Linked DNA regions of Homo sapiens: region 2 is linked to region 1. The links are contacts of gene promoters, found by promoter capture Hi-C in blood cells and fetal thymus (Javierre and others, 2016). All regions are on one chromosome and are shown on one strand. The core of a region is centred on a gene start or on the middle of the fragment in contact, and the rest is flanking DNA. Distances in the headings are between cores, read along the strand shown. Region 1 holds the start of CDS1 (CDP-diacylglycerol synthase 1). Region 2 has its middle 110 kb from the start of GPAT3.

Region 1 (6,422 bases), core at 2,764-5,263:
TACTTAAATTATGAAGGAACATGTCATTTAGGATATAGCTTCAGCTGTGTTTGATGAAAATGTTGCTGAAAGCAAATTAGGTCACAGCTAGATTCAAGCTATGATTCAAGCTAGGTTCAAGCTATGACTCAAACCCAGGGTTCTTGGTATAGAAACTCCATACTTCTAACTACACCATAGCACTCTCTCCTCTGATACTCTCTCACTACAATACTTGATAGTACACCATTATTTTCCCGTGCAATTCCATTAAAAATAAAAATGTAAATATAAGTTGTTTTTCAAGATTTTCCCATAAAATGTTTCTCTGGTGGCCTAAATCAGAAATTCCTACCTCTAACTTATAAACAAAGCTGACAGAGGGCAACAGAGAAAGATAGGTCAAGCGACAAAAGCTGTTACTTGGGTATCTAAGCAACTGGAAACGCTTGGCTGAGGAAGATTTCTTCCGCCCCTGGCAAGCTGGGGACATTCCAGCAGGGCACCTTTGAGCCTCTGATGTGAAAAGCAGCTCAGATTCACATTCCCACCCCAGAGGGGCATGTTTATCAGTCTGGGAACATTCTGAGGGTATTCAGGGAAGAGTGGTAACAAACTGCTTCATCTACTCTCACTACTTCAGGCAACGTCTCTGCATCTTATGCTCTTATTACTTCCAGCAAAAGAGAAGGTAAACAGTAATCTAAAATAAAAACCATATAAGCAATAACGTTAGCACTCTCTCTCATCTCTCTAGCAAATTCCTCATTAGGAGTTAGAAGGTGAAAAAAAATTTTTTTTAAAATTTTTTTTTTAATTTTTTTGAGATAGGGTCTCACTCTGTCACCCAGGCTAGAGTGCAGTAGAGTGAACAGGGGTCACAGAGGCCTCGAACTCCCAGGCCCAAGCAATCCACCCGCCTCAGCTTTCCAAGTAGCTGGGACTACAGGCACACGCCACCATGCCCAGCTAATTTTTAAATTTTTGTGTAGAGATGGGGTCTCCATATGTTGCCCAGGCTGGTCTTGAACTTCTGGGCTCAAGAGACATTCATGCATCAGCCTCCTAAAGTGCTGGAATTACAGATGTGAGCCACCACGCCCGGCTGGAAAATCTTAAAATCAATCCAAGAAGTGCTGGCTGGGTTGTACTACGTGATTAGGCCCATGCATATGCTTAGGGTTTCCATGAAGCCCTTCAGCAGGATAAATACAAGAAAAATTAACAGGTAAAGCCTTAGAAACCATTACACGCCAGATTTTGTGTTACCAAACACAAATACAATAAATTTAGAGAACATAAGTTCCCTGAATGAAAACGAAAGATAAAAATAAAAAAGAAAGAAAAAGGAAAAATTAGAAAAAAGACATAGAAAAAGTCTGAGAACACAGAGTTCCGTAAGCCAGTTGTGGTTGAGTATATTGTACAGTATCTTAAGTAAAATAAAGTCATTACTACAACCACTTTTAATAAGTATTAAAATCAACTTCTCTCTGATATAAAGTGAAAATGAAGAAAAGTGTCTATGTAAGTCTAAAATAGACTTTAAATGAAGAAACCATAAATACTATACATTCATGGGTTGCATAACAATGTTTCAGTCAACAATGGACCACATATACCACTGTAGCCTATAAGATTATAATACCATATTTTTATAGTACCTTTTCTATGTTTAGATACACAAATACTTACCATTGTGTTACAGTTGTCTAAGTAATAGGCTATACCATGTAGCCTGGGTGTGCAGTAGGCTATGCCATCTAGGTTTAGTATACCCTGTGATGTTGCCCAATGATGCATTTCTAAGAATGTATCCCCACTGTTAAACAACATATGACTGTATAAATTTCCCTTGTTGTGCTATACCTTTGCCATCCCATCATTTCTTCATTCACCTCTTCAGCAAACATTGTTACCTATAGAAGGGTGGTTTTTGGCACTGTGGAAAGAGCTAGACCTGTAAAGATGAATAAGCCAGTTTCTGCTGTCTGGACTCAGTCTATTCACTCAACTAGTGGTAATAGCTATAATGAAGAAGATTGAAAGAAATTGCTCTCTTAGCTAAAACACAAGAAGGAGCAGAGCTTAAGGAAGGTGAGGTAAGTAGAACCTCACATTCTATTTTGGCAGTCTTTGCATTGGTCCCACTTTTCCTGGGTTGGGGAATACTGTTTCTTCTATCACGCACTACTGTCCTCTGTTGTTCCCCTCTGTCACTCCTCTCACTCTCTTTTTTCCTCCTGCAGCAAAGGGAAAAAGTCAAAGAGGCCATGAGAGGACTAGGCAAAGGGGAAACAGGAAGTTGTTCAGGTACCTTGTGTAGTAGGTCTCCTTTTCTTGGACCATGGGGGAAAGCAAAGGCTGGATTCTGATCGTCTAAGAGCTAAAAGGGACCACAGAGGCCATCCTTACTATCCGTTTACAGCTGAGGACACTGAGGGTTAATAACTTACCAAGGCCATGCAATTAGTGGCATTGGCAGCACTAGAACTCAGGCTTCTTGACTTCCAGAGAGTTAGAATGGAGCACTTCTAATCCTTTATGCAGGGTAGGGTAGTAGCCAGAGATGGAAACCCTACTACTGGCTTCAGCCATTATTCTGATTATCTTCTTCACTATCAAGCACTCCTTCATTTCCGATCCTCCAAACAATTGGACAATTTATTAATGTAGTCACCCCATAGTTCTCTGTTCAGTAGGGACTTATTTTCAAATCTTCTCTGTCATTTCAGTTATCCACCCCATAAGGAACAAATTATGGTTTCTCGACATCCTTTTGAAAACGTGCAACCCAAACTAACCGCACAGCTTCAAAGATCTGTTTGGTGAGGTAAAATGATGTCTTTGTGTTCTGCTTTTCAATGCATCCTAATTTGACTTTTGGTTTTGCTCATTTGTTAGTAAATTTTCAACACTTTACTTACTTTTACCGTGTCAGTAAAGACCTTGAGGAATTTACATAGTTGATCTATTTCTATAAGGGTGCTCTCCTGAACCTTGTCCTGTGTGAAGGCCCGCCTTTTTTCTTTTTTCTCTTTGTTTCTCTCTTTTTTTCATTTGTTAGCTTGTCAGTAATGACCGGGTGGCGGATACATGTCAAGAAAACTAATCACCTTCTAACAGGATTAAGACTAGAATTAATGCAGATCTTGTGCCCTTCCTGTTCCCGCTTTGGCAGCCCAAGGTCCACCACTGCTCAGAGACTAGCTGGAGGGCAACGGCGTCCCATAGCATCTCACACTGTGTTGGGATCCTAGGTGGTGACCTTTGTGAGATTCAGTACTGAGTTTCTGGGAGACGGCGCTGCGGTTGTGATCGGAATTGTTGGCCGACGCACCTCTGGACGCCCAGTGAGGCAAAAGCATCTCCTGTTTTCAAGGTGATGACACTGGGCTGGAATGCCGCGGGGCCAACCAGTCCGTCCTGCCAGACAAGTTTCTGGTCCAGTGAGCCTCCGACCCGCCGCGCGTGTCAAGCTGACAAGGCCGGGGAGGCGTTTGAAGCAGCAGTGTTGAGCGCTGTTAACATTTAGCGGGCGTCTTTGAGTAGCTCCTCCAGCCCTCGCAGCGGCCCAGGGACTAGCCTGCAAGTTCTCAACGCTCACTTCCAGCCCGCGCTGGCCCCGCCTCCGCCTCCCAGCTCCTCAGCCTCCTCCCGCCCCACCGCTCCCACCTTTTCTCAGGCCCCCACCTGCCAGCACGCAGAGGCGGGGGCGGGGTCGCGGGCCGGGCTCCTGACGTCACCTCACGGGGAGGCGGGGCTGTGGGAACCGCAGTGCAGCGCAGAGGGGCGGGGCCTGCGGCGCGAGACCTGGTGCGGGAGGCCCGGGCAGGGAGAAGTGTGCGGGGCCGGGACAAGCCGGCTCCGAGTCCGGCTCCGGGGGGCGGGGCGGGAGGGGCCTGCGCGGCGGCGGGAGCCCAGAGCCGCGCTAAAGCGGGTCAAGCGTCCTCCTTTTCTCCCCGCCCCTTCTCCTCCTCCTACCTGGGCCTCTGCGTGGAGACGCGCACCTGGCAACCGGAGGCCGCGTCTCCGCCTTCTCTGCTCGCGCCTGGCGCCCGGAGCCTGCCCGGGACCTCCGCCGGAGCCGCGCTCGCTGCAGGCGGCCTCGAGCGCTCTCTCGTTGATGCCGTTTTGGAGGTGACCGGCGCGGCGGCCGCTCTATGGTGGGGCCGCGTTAGTGGCTGCGGCTCCGCGGGACTCCAGGGCGCGGCTGCGAGGTGGCGGGGCGCCCCGCCTGCAGAACCCTGCTTGCAGCTCAGGTTTCGGGGTGCTTGAGGAGGCCGCCACGGCAGCGCGGGAGCGGAAGATGTTGGAGCTGAGGCACCGGGGAAGCTGCCCCGGCCCCAGGGAAGCGGTGTCGCCGCCACACCGCGAGGGAGAGGCGGCCGGCGGCGACCACGAAACCGAGAGCACCAGCGACAAAGTAAGTGGAGCCGAGAGAGGCGGACGCCGCGCCCTGGCTGGGTCCTGGTTGGAAGCGGGACACTTGAGAGCAAGGGTGGGGCCCGTCCAGCGTCAGGTGAGGCTGCACGCTGCCGGTGCACCTTCCTCCCTGCCTGGCACTGCTTCCTCCTTCTCCAGAGGGGGTCGGGACCCGGGATCCCAGTGGCGGTGAGGTTCCCAGGATGACCGCGGCCGCTGCCCGGGAGAAATGGGCCACTCAACCCGGCTTACAGTTTAGCTTCATCCTCTTCCGGTCCCTTCTTCAGGATCTGGGGCCGACGCTGGAATCAGGAGGGAACCTGTCCTCCTAGGGGCTGCAGTGCAGTTAGTAGCTGCCACCTCACCTCTCTTTTCAGTAGAGGGAACAAAGTTAGTAAGGACTAGAGACGTGCCACCGTCGGCTGTATCATTTCATCGGATCCTGACGCGGGAGGCTTGGCTTCTCGCGCTGCCCCATATGCACTTACATTTTCTCCATCCTTTTTCAGTATGATAGATTTTGGAGGTTTTAGAGTATCATGCACGTGACATAATAGTAATCTTCCAGCTTCTTTTGAGTACACGACAGACAGTGCAATTCTTCTGTCTACCAGTAGATTTCATATAACCCGACGTTAATTCATGAAGACTTTTCACTTCCTTTTCTATAGATTACTCTTCTTTCACATTTAAGAATAAGTAGATGCGATATTACTATCTGTTTAAAGCTAGAAAAGGAATTCGGGCGTGTTTGGTAATATAGTGGTGCAAGTAAGAACTTGTGAAGAAATGCAGTTTTATGATCTTATGGACTGGATGGTTTGGGAAATTGGACCAGAGAATAGATTGTTGTATCAAACCGTCTGTTTAGAAAATTCCATTTTATTTGAGAAACCCAAAACACGTAAACTGTTTCTAGAAGCATACTTTGGAAGCAGGCATTGCAGTTTGAATTACAGAAGTGAGGTGGATTGCCCAAGGTCAAGTTCGTGGCTCTTGAAACTAGAATCTAAGTTTCCTGATTCCTTTTCTTCTGGTTTATGTGGTTGCTGAGACTGGCTGGCAGTTCTGATTTGGGGAGGATTCCACCTGAAAGTTGATGTTGATGAGTTTGATGTAACCCAAATTACAAAGCCCTAATAGGAACATATCACATGATATCACGAAATAAACGTAAACGTGATTCTTAGTACTAAAACTTTAGAATCAATGGAATCAATGTAGTGACACTTTTCCCCTTACCCTTGATAGTAAGTAGAATAAAATGAGTCTGTAATAAAACATAAGTGTCAAGGAATTACCCAAAATATAACAATTTCCAGCTACTGAAGGTTGAAGTTACAAAACTAGGAACAGTGGGCTGAGAATAGTCTTTGTGAAAACTGCCTTGGAAACTAGACCCAAAATAGAATTAATTAGGTTGGGATTTGTTTTGTTTTGTTTTTAGCACTGGTATAGTTTAGCATCAAGGAAATACCAGCTTCTCTATGCTGACTTCCTTAACTCGACAAAGCTAACAAGCTTTTGTTAAGAGAAAAGATGTTCAGGAAGCCATGCATAAAATACCTTCGGAATTAAGTTTTTTCTTTTTTTAACACCATAATGTATTTAAAATGGAAACTACTTCTGTAGTGTGATTTGACTCATTAGAACTGTTGTCTCTAGCTATCTGTGACTAGGTTACCTCGCTGCATATTTATTTATTTATCAATGCAGTACTGTTGGTTTTTATTGACACATGTCCAGCTGGATTTTGTTTTCTGAAAGTAGACTTTGCTATATGTAACCTGTTTTGTCAAGATTTCTTAGACAAGGATGAACATATTCAAACCATATCTAAAATACTGCTCTACTTTTAGAGTTTATCATGAGGAACTTTTGACTTGGCAAGCTGATAGATATTGAACTCTATCCCTGTCTGTCCTTTCTTATCAGGGTGTGTATTTGAATACACCTGTATTTCCAGGTCAAGGGCTATTTTAAAATCAGTTTGCACACTGGAGGCTGGTTAATATTTG
Region 2 (6,422 bases), core at 2,501-5,000, 940 kb before region 1:
CTTTGAAAGAATGTCTTAGGCGCCATCTTGTGGTCAGCATTATGAATGCATTGAATTCAACTCATCCTCAACTTGCTGGAGACTGCTTACAAAGTTCATGACGGCTTTCGGGCTGTTGAGACTTGAATACATTTCTCCATAGAACCAATGTCACAAAGGGAGGTTACATTATCCTACTATGGCAAAGACCTAGTATATTAGTCAGGTCTTTTTCAGCATCAGGTGACAGAAACCTATTTCAAACTGGCTTCGGCAAGAAGGGGTTTTCTCACAGAAGAAGGAATTGCTGTAGGAACCAGGGCCTTTGGTTTTATTCCATCTTGCTTCAAGGAAGGTTGTTATCAGAAATCCAGATTTTGAATAATTTTCCACATTATGACTCAGCTAGCTACAAGCAGAAGAATCTCAAGGAAGGACCCTGGCCTGATTGGGTCTCATGCCAAGCCTTGTACCAATCATGTATTCTGGGGAATGAGACACCATGAACAGCCAGCTTGAGTTGGGTGATCATCCTCAGTGGTTGGGGGGTGGAGAAGAAGAGACAGAATATGTTACCTTAGGAAGGGAGTGGGAAGGCTTGCTGGGCAAATGAGCAAACTAAAAAGAGCAACCGCAACCTATCGCATTCTGCTACTGAGATACCAGAACACATCCATACCCTTCTCCCCATGCATGCAATTCCCAAAGTGCCTAAATGCTGTAACTTTCCTGAGTAGACACAGTACAAACTCATCTTCTTCCCAAGAGGAATTAAAGACACATTGAATTGATGTGTTCAACACCACGTCTAGGATTTCTGGATGATGTGTGTTCCTCTTAGGTTCAGAGGTAGTGTCTACTCCAGGTCCAATAATCTATTTCCATTAAGAAAAAAACTTGACCACAAAGCCAGTTATTTAATCTATTTTGGATTCACTTAACATACCTTTTAAGATTTCCAAAAGAGACAAATCCTGTAAGTGTCTTATTTTATTGAGTTAAACACTTGAAAGCTATTTATTCATTTAAATCAGTATTTTGAGTAAGTGTTTATATGAGCCCCTAATATTTGTCAGGTATCATTTTAGGTGCTAGGAGTACATCCCTCATTTCTCTGAACTTAAAGACATGAGCAAATAACTAAGCAGTAAGGGGCTGTAATTGCAGTATTAATTGCATGTATGTTCTATTTGTACCATTTTTACAGAATTGTATGTATTTTACAGGTGGTATTTATGAAAATTGAAACCATAGAAATAAGAGAATCTCACTGATACAGAGAACAGGGATAAATAGAACCTCAAAGAGTTAGAGTTATTATTAGGACCAATTTTAAGTTGGAAGATACTTGGCAACAGTTTGTCAAAAATGATGGAACCGTTTTCTTCCTTTTCCTAGTTTATGTGGACTTTTGTTCTAGCAAATTTTGGTTTGTGCATTTGAGGGCCAATTACTCATGAAGCAGAATATTTGAGTCCATTTGCTTTATTCACTAACTGGTTGTCCTACTGGCATTTCTAATTTAAAACACATTGAATGACCTCCTAAGACAAACATCTAGCTTAATGATTAGAGGGAAGGATTGGACAGTACTTCAGAGCATGAGTTTTGACATAAGTGTCACCAAGGTGGGCCGGGCACAGCGGTTCACACCTGTAATCCCAGCACTTTGGGAGGCTGAGGCGAGCAGATCACCTGAGGTCGGGAGTTTGAGACCAGCCTGACCAACATGGAGAAACCTCGTCTCTACTGAAAATACAAAATTAGCTGGGCATGGTGGTGGTGCGCCTGTAATCTCAGCTACTCGGGAGGCTGAGGCAGGAGAATCGCTTGAACCTGGGAGGCGGAGGTTGTGGTAAGTCGAGATTGCGCCATTGCACTTTAGCCTGGGCAATAAGAGCGAAACTCTGTCTCAAAAAAAAAAAGAAAAGTCACCAATGTTTACTCCTGGCTTCACTCTTATTAGCTCTGTGACCTTCAGCAAGAGTCTTAGCTTTCTTAGTTTTCTCATTTAAGTAGTGGTACTCAACTTGTACTAGTACTCAACTTGTAAGGTCATTGTGAGTGTTAAATAAATATGTCACCGTATTAGCATATAGTAAGGGCTATATACATGTTGAAAGAATAATTAGAAAAAAGTGAAGCCTTTCTTAAGTGCCTTTTAAAAGTAGGCACTACATGGCTAAAATCCATTTATTAATGCTATAGAGACTTGATTATTGTTCATATAATTGATTATTGTTTGTTCATATAATTGATTACTGCTGTCTTAATTGGGGACCAGTGTCACTCAGAAAGAGTGTTGACAGTATGGAAATTACAAAAGATGTTGTTTTTATTTACTATGTTGAATGGTGGTATGAGGGAATCACTGGACTAGCAAAACTCTCTTAAAGTTTTGACATGGGATGGAGTGTGTGGTGGTGGGGACCCTTTTTCCCACTGTTGAGGTTTTATTCTTGTGGAGGGAGCTCCACTAGTCTAGGATTTCTGGATGATGTGTGTTCCTCTTAGGCTCAGACATAGTGTCTTCTCTAGGTCCCTTCCTTGGTGTTTTTATGCCCCTTCCTTGCTCCTTTCTGGAAGATACGTCACTTATCTGACTGGTGAATGTGGAAGGAATAACTGACCAAATGGCTCAGCCTCTTCCCTTTTTCTCTTGGGAGGAGCCTGTCTTCTGGAAGCTTGCATTCCACTCTGATCATCCTTGTCATAAATGCACCAGGCAGGCCCTGTTTTTCAGAGGCTTGCCCAGTCCAGTGGTGCTTGGGATTCAAAAGATAAGCAGTGGCTGGGTGCGGTGGCCCACGCCTGTAATCTAAGCACTTTGGGAAGCTGAGGGAGATGGATTGCTTGAGCTCAGGATTTTGAGACCAGCCTCGGCAACATGGTGAAACTCCATCTCTACGAAAAATACAAAAATTAGCCAGTCTTATAACCAGGTCTCAAAAAAATAAATAAAAATTTAAAAAGACCAGCAGTTTAATTCTTGAGTGCAATGTGATCTACTTGCCTAGAGACGTAGCCTCATTTTTCAATATTAACAATGTGATATCTATTCTCCTAGCTGCCTTATTCTTTGGTCGGATTTCTTAATTGCCTCACAACATTTGTGAGAAAGATGAATGTCATTTACCAAGCCTGTTGAAATCCCAGCAGTCCTGTTAACAATGAATTGTGCACATTCTACTGGGGACTTCCTTCCTTTCCTTTCCTTCCTTTCCTTCCTTTCCTTCCCTTTCCTTCCTTCCTTCCTTCCTTCCTTCCTTCCTTCCTTCCTTCCTTCCTTCTCTCTCTTTTCTTTTCTTTTCTTTTCTTTTCTTCTTCCTTTCTGTCCTGAATCTCGCACTGTCACCTGGGCTGGAGTGCAGTGGCGCAATCTCAGCTCACTGCAACCTCTGCCTCCTGGTTCACGTGATTCTCCTGTCTCATCCTCTTGAGTAGCTGGGATTACAGGCACACACCACCACACCCTGCTAATTTTTGTATTTTTAGTAGAGACAGGGTTCACTGTGTTGGCCAGACTGGTCTCAAACTCCTGACCTCATGATCCGCCCGCCTCGGCCTCCCAAAGTGCTGGGATTACAGGTGTGAGCCACTGTGCCTGGCCAGGGACTTTCTAAGAGCCTGAGTGGAATACACTTCAGAATTATCTATTGAAGGGCAAGGGAGCTAGGGTGTCTATCCACCAACTCCTGTCCCTCACTGGCTGAGGGTTGCTTAATTCCCTGGTACTTTTAGCTTGCCCATTTTGTCGCTAGCAGAAGTCCTCGGCCAGAGAAATGCAGGTGTTTGATGCGGGAAACCAAGAATAAGATGAGAACAATCTACTGAAGCGCCAAGTAACTTTCAGTGTGTCCTGGGGAATGGTTGGGGCACTCACAGTGCCAGCGATAAGGTTCTCTGAATTCCCGTTGGCTATGCTAGTACCCTTGCTCTGTGATTCCACAGATGTTTCCTTAGTCAAATCCAGCATTGGATGGGTTTATTCTGTCACCTCAGCTGTAAGCTCTATGTGGGCAGGGACCAGATGCATGCTATTCACTGTGGTATTCTCAAGCCTAGATGATCAGTAAATATTTGTTAAATGTAGCCGGGTGCAGAGGCTCACGCCTCTAACCCCAGCAATTTGGGAGGCAGAGGCAGGCAAATCACTTGAGGTCAGGAGTTCAAGATCAGCCTGGCCAACATGGTGAAACCCTGTCTCCACAAAAAATACAAAATATATATATATATATTTTAGTCGGGCGTGGTGGCACGTGTCTGTAATCCCATCTACTTGGGAGGCTGAGGCAAGATAATCGCTTGAAGCCAGGAGGCAGAGGTTGCAGTGAGCTGAGATCACACCACTGCACTCCAGCCTGGGCAACAGAGTGAGACTCCATCTCAAAAAAAAAAAAAAATTACTTGTTGAATGAATGCTGTGGTCGGGAATGAATAAATGGTCACAGTGAAAAAATCATATGCAATTATTTTTAAAGCTAGTTTTGGTGTTTTGTAAGAAAGTACATTTGCTATACAAAGAATTGTACTGCTGAAACACAGAGACATGAAGTGCATGGTTTGGACCCACCTGATGTTAAGTTTGAAATAAACTTGCCTTTTACAACTTTATGGTCCTAGAAAAAGGGAGATCACATATTTTCCTTTCTTAGCAAAAATTGTTATCAAGGAATAGTTTCCATGAAGGTAAAACAGAGTAAGAGATTTGTTCTATTTGAAGTATTTTAAATAGGTTCTGTTTGTGAAGTTACTTGTCAAAGTTTCTCAACAGGAGAGAGATGGATTTCAGTGCTGAGGATATGATGATGTAATGTGACAACATTGCCAGTAGGGGGTGCTGTTTCACGTAGCATTAGAAGCTTTATGGCTTTGGATTCTGTAAATAGAGTTCACAACATTATTCTCGAAATGAATTAGATTAGTTTCCGAACGGTTGATAGGATTTTTAACGTCAGACAGGCAATAAAAGAGAAAGCACCAAAATCAGTCACCCCACTCCATAAGCAAAAAAGTCTGAGGGAGATAAAATCTGTAATTCATACAACTGCAGCCAATATGGGGAAGAAATAATAAAAAAGAAAAAAATGGCTAATTCCAAGTTGATTATATGCTCCAGTGTGGCCTGGATAATTCCAGTTTTGAAATACTATTCTGGATGGGCACATATGCTGAGAAAAATTCAGATATAATGGATAGTGGATAGTTTTTGTTATAGAGTCAAGAGTTGCTTGAATAGATAGCTTTAAGATGAACTGGGAAGTGCTGGGCTTAACTTTGTGAATTACCACATATGAAATACAATTATGCTCACAAATTACTATATTTAAAAACAGCTCACAAAGTAATTCTCATACTCCTGCATTTATAACTTGACAAACTGCTGAGCTGTCTTAATATTTCAATTGAATCTAATAAACACTTACTGGGGGTCTACTGTGTACCAGGCAGTCTGCCAAGCACTGGGAATCCACAAATTTTAGTAAGACAGAGCCCTCCCTTTGAGATTAGCCTTTAGCCAGGGGTTTTTAGGCCTTATAGAGACACTGCTTCTTTTCCATCACAGCCAAAGAACTCAGTCCAAGAGCTGTGGTGCAAGGAGAGGAGTGGTTGTTCCCTGCCTCCATGGTCTTCCTGTAGCAAGGTCTCTGCTCCTCTATACGAAGACCTTGTTTAGTCTGGAGGCAACCAAGAAGTAAGAATTGCCAACACACTGGTTATTCCTCTTGCATCACTCCTTTCAATGCAGAGGGAAGAACTACGGTCATTTTAGATGTTTATCAAAATCCAGTTAATAGATTTAAAAAGGATTATCATTCATCATACCTAAATGTCATAATCACTCCCTTTTCCAGGATGCCCGAAGAAGGCTCAAAGACACAGTGAAATGGCCAAAATAATATTCTAGGACTAGCCTAGAATATTCTAGTCTTCTCGCAGGTTCTAAAATGACAGCTCTAGTGCCAGGACACTAACACGACTGCCCCGAGATTTACCCCTTCCTCTCCCTCCAGAAACATTTGAGACGACAAAAGTTTTCCCATGCAGCAGCAGAAAGCTATCCAATTACTTTCTGGGGAGTGAAATCTTTTAGAAGACACGAACATCAAAGATTTTGAAATGGGGTCAAAGAACAAGGGTGTCTTTGGAAACACACAGTCCTGGTCTGGATTCCAACCTAATTTTTCAGCCGTGTGATTTTGGGCAATTTACTAAGCCTTGGCTTTCTCCCTTAAAAACAGGAATTATCATTCCTAGCTCTTAAGATTGTTGCAAAGTTTGAAATAGGATAATCTATGGAAAAGCACCTATAATAATTCCTGGCATGGTGGGCATCCTAGAAAGTGTTAGGATTCTCCCTTCCTTCTTTGGAGGGGATATTGGTCATCAGTTATGTGATCATCAAACCACATGTAAGCATGTTTAGTATCCAAGCCATGTCA

What was found. The method cuts DNA at HindIII sites, captures the fragments that hold promoters and counts their contacts. A CHiCAGO score of 5 or more calls a contact.
Region 2: a fragment that was not itself captured here is called in contact with the fragment with the promoter of CDS1 in region 1 in 7 of 17 cell types (total CD4 T cells, naive CD8 T cells, naive CD4 T cells and 4 more); the score reaches 12.6 in total CD4 T cells.

Annotation. Positions count from the first base shown.
Region 1 is chr4:84,579,114-84,585,535 of GRCh38, forward strand. It overlaps CDS1 (CDP-diacylglycerol synthase 1), which reads left to right and starts at 4,014. Exons shown (of 13, transcript NM_001263.4): 1 at 4,014-4,405. The coding sequence starts at 4,289. It overlaps LOC102723338 (a long non-coding RNA gene), which reads right to left and starts at 3,108. Exons shown (of 8, transcript XR_007058460.1): 1 at 2,436-3,108. RefSeq lists silencers at 3,621-3,830, 3,871-3,970 and an enhancer at 3,807-4,760. The HindIII fragment of the contact is 8,586 bases long and covers 1-5,923 here.
Region 2 is chr4:83,640,060-83,646,481 of GRCh38, forward strand. No RefSeq gene overlaps it. Among named protein-coding and RNA genes, the nearest start is that of GPAT3, 110 kb to the left of the region's middle. RefSeq lists an enhancer at 88-137. The HindIII fragment of the contact is 2,178 bases long and covers 2,662-4,839 here.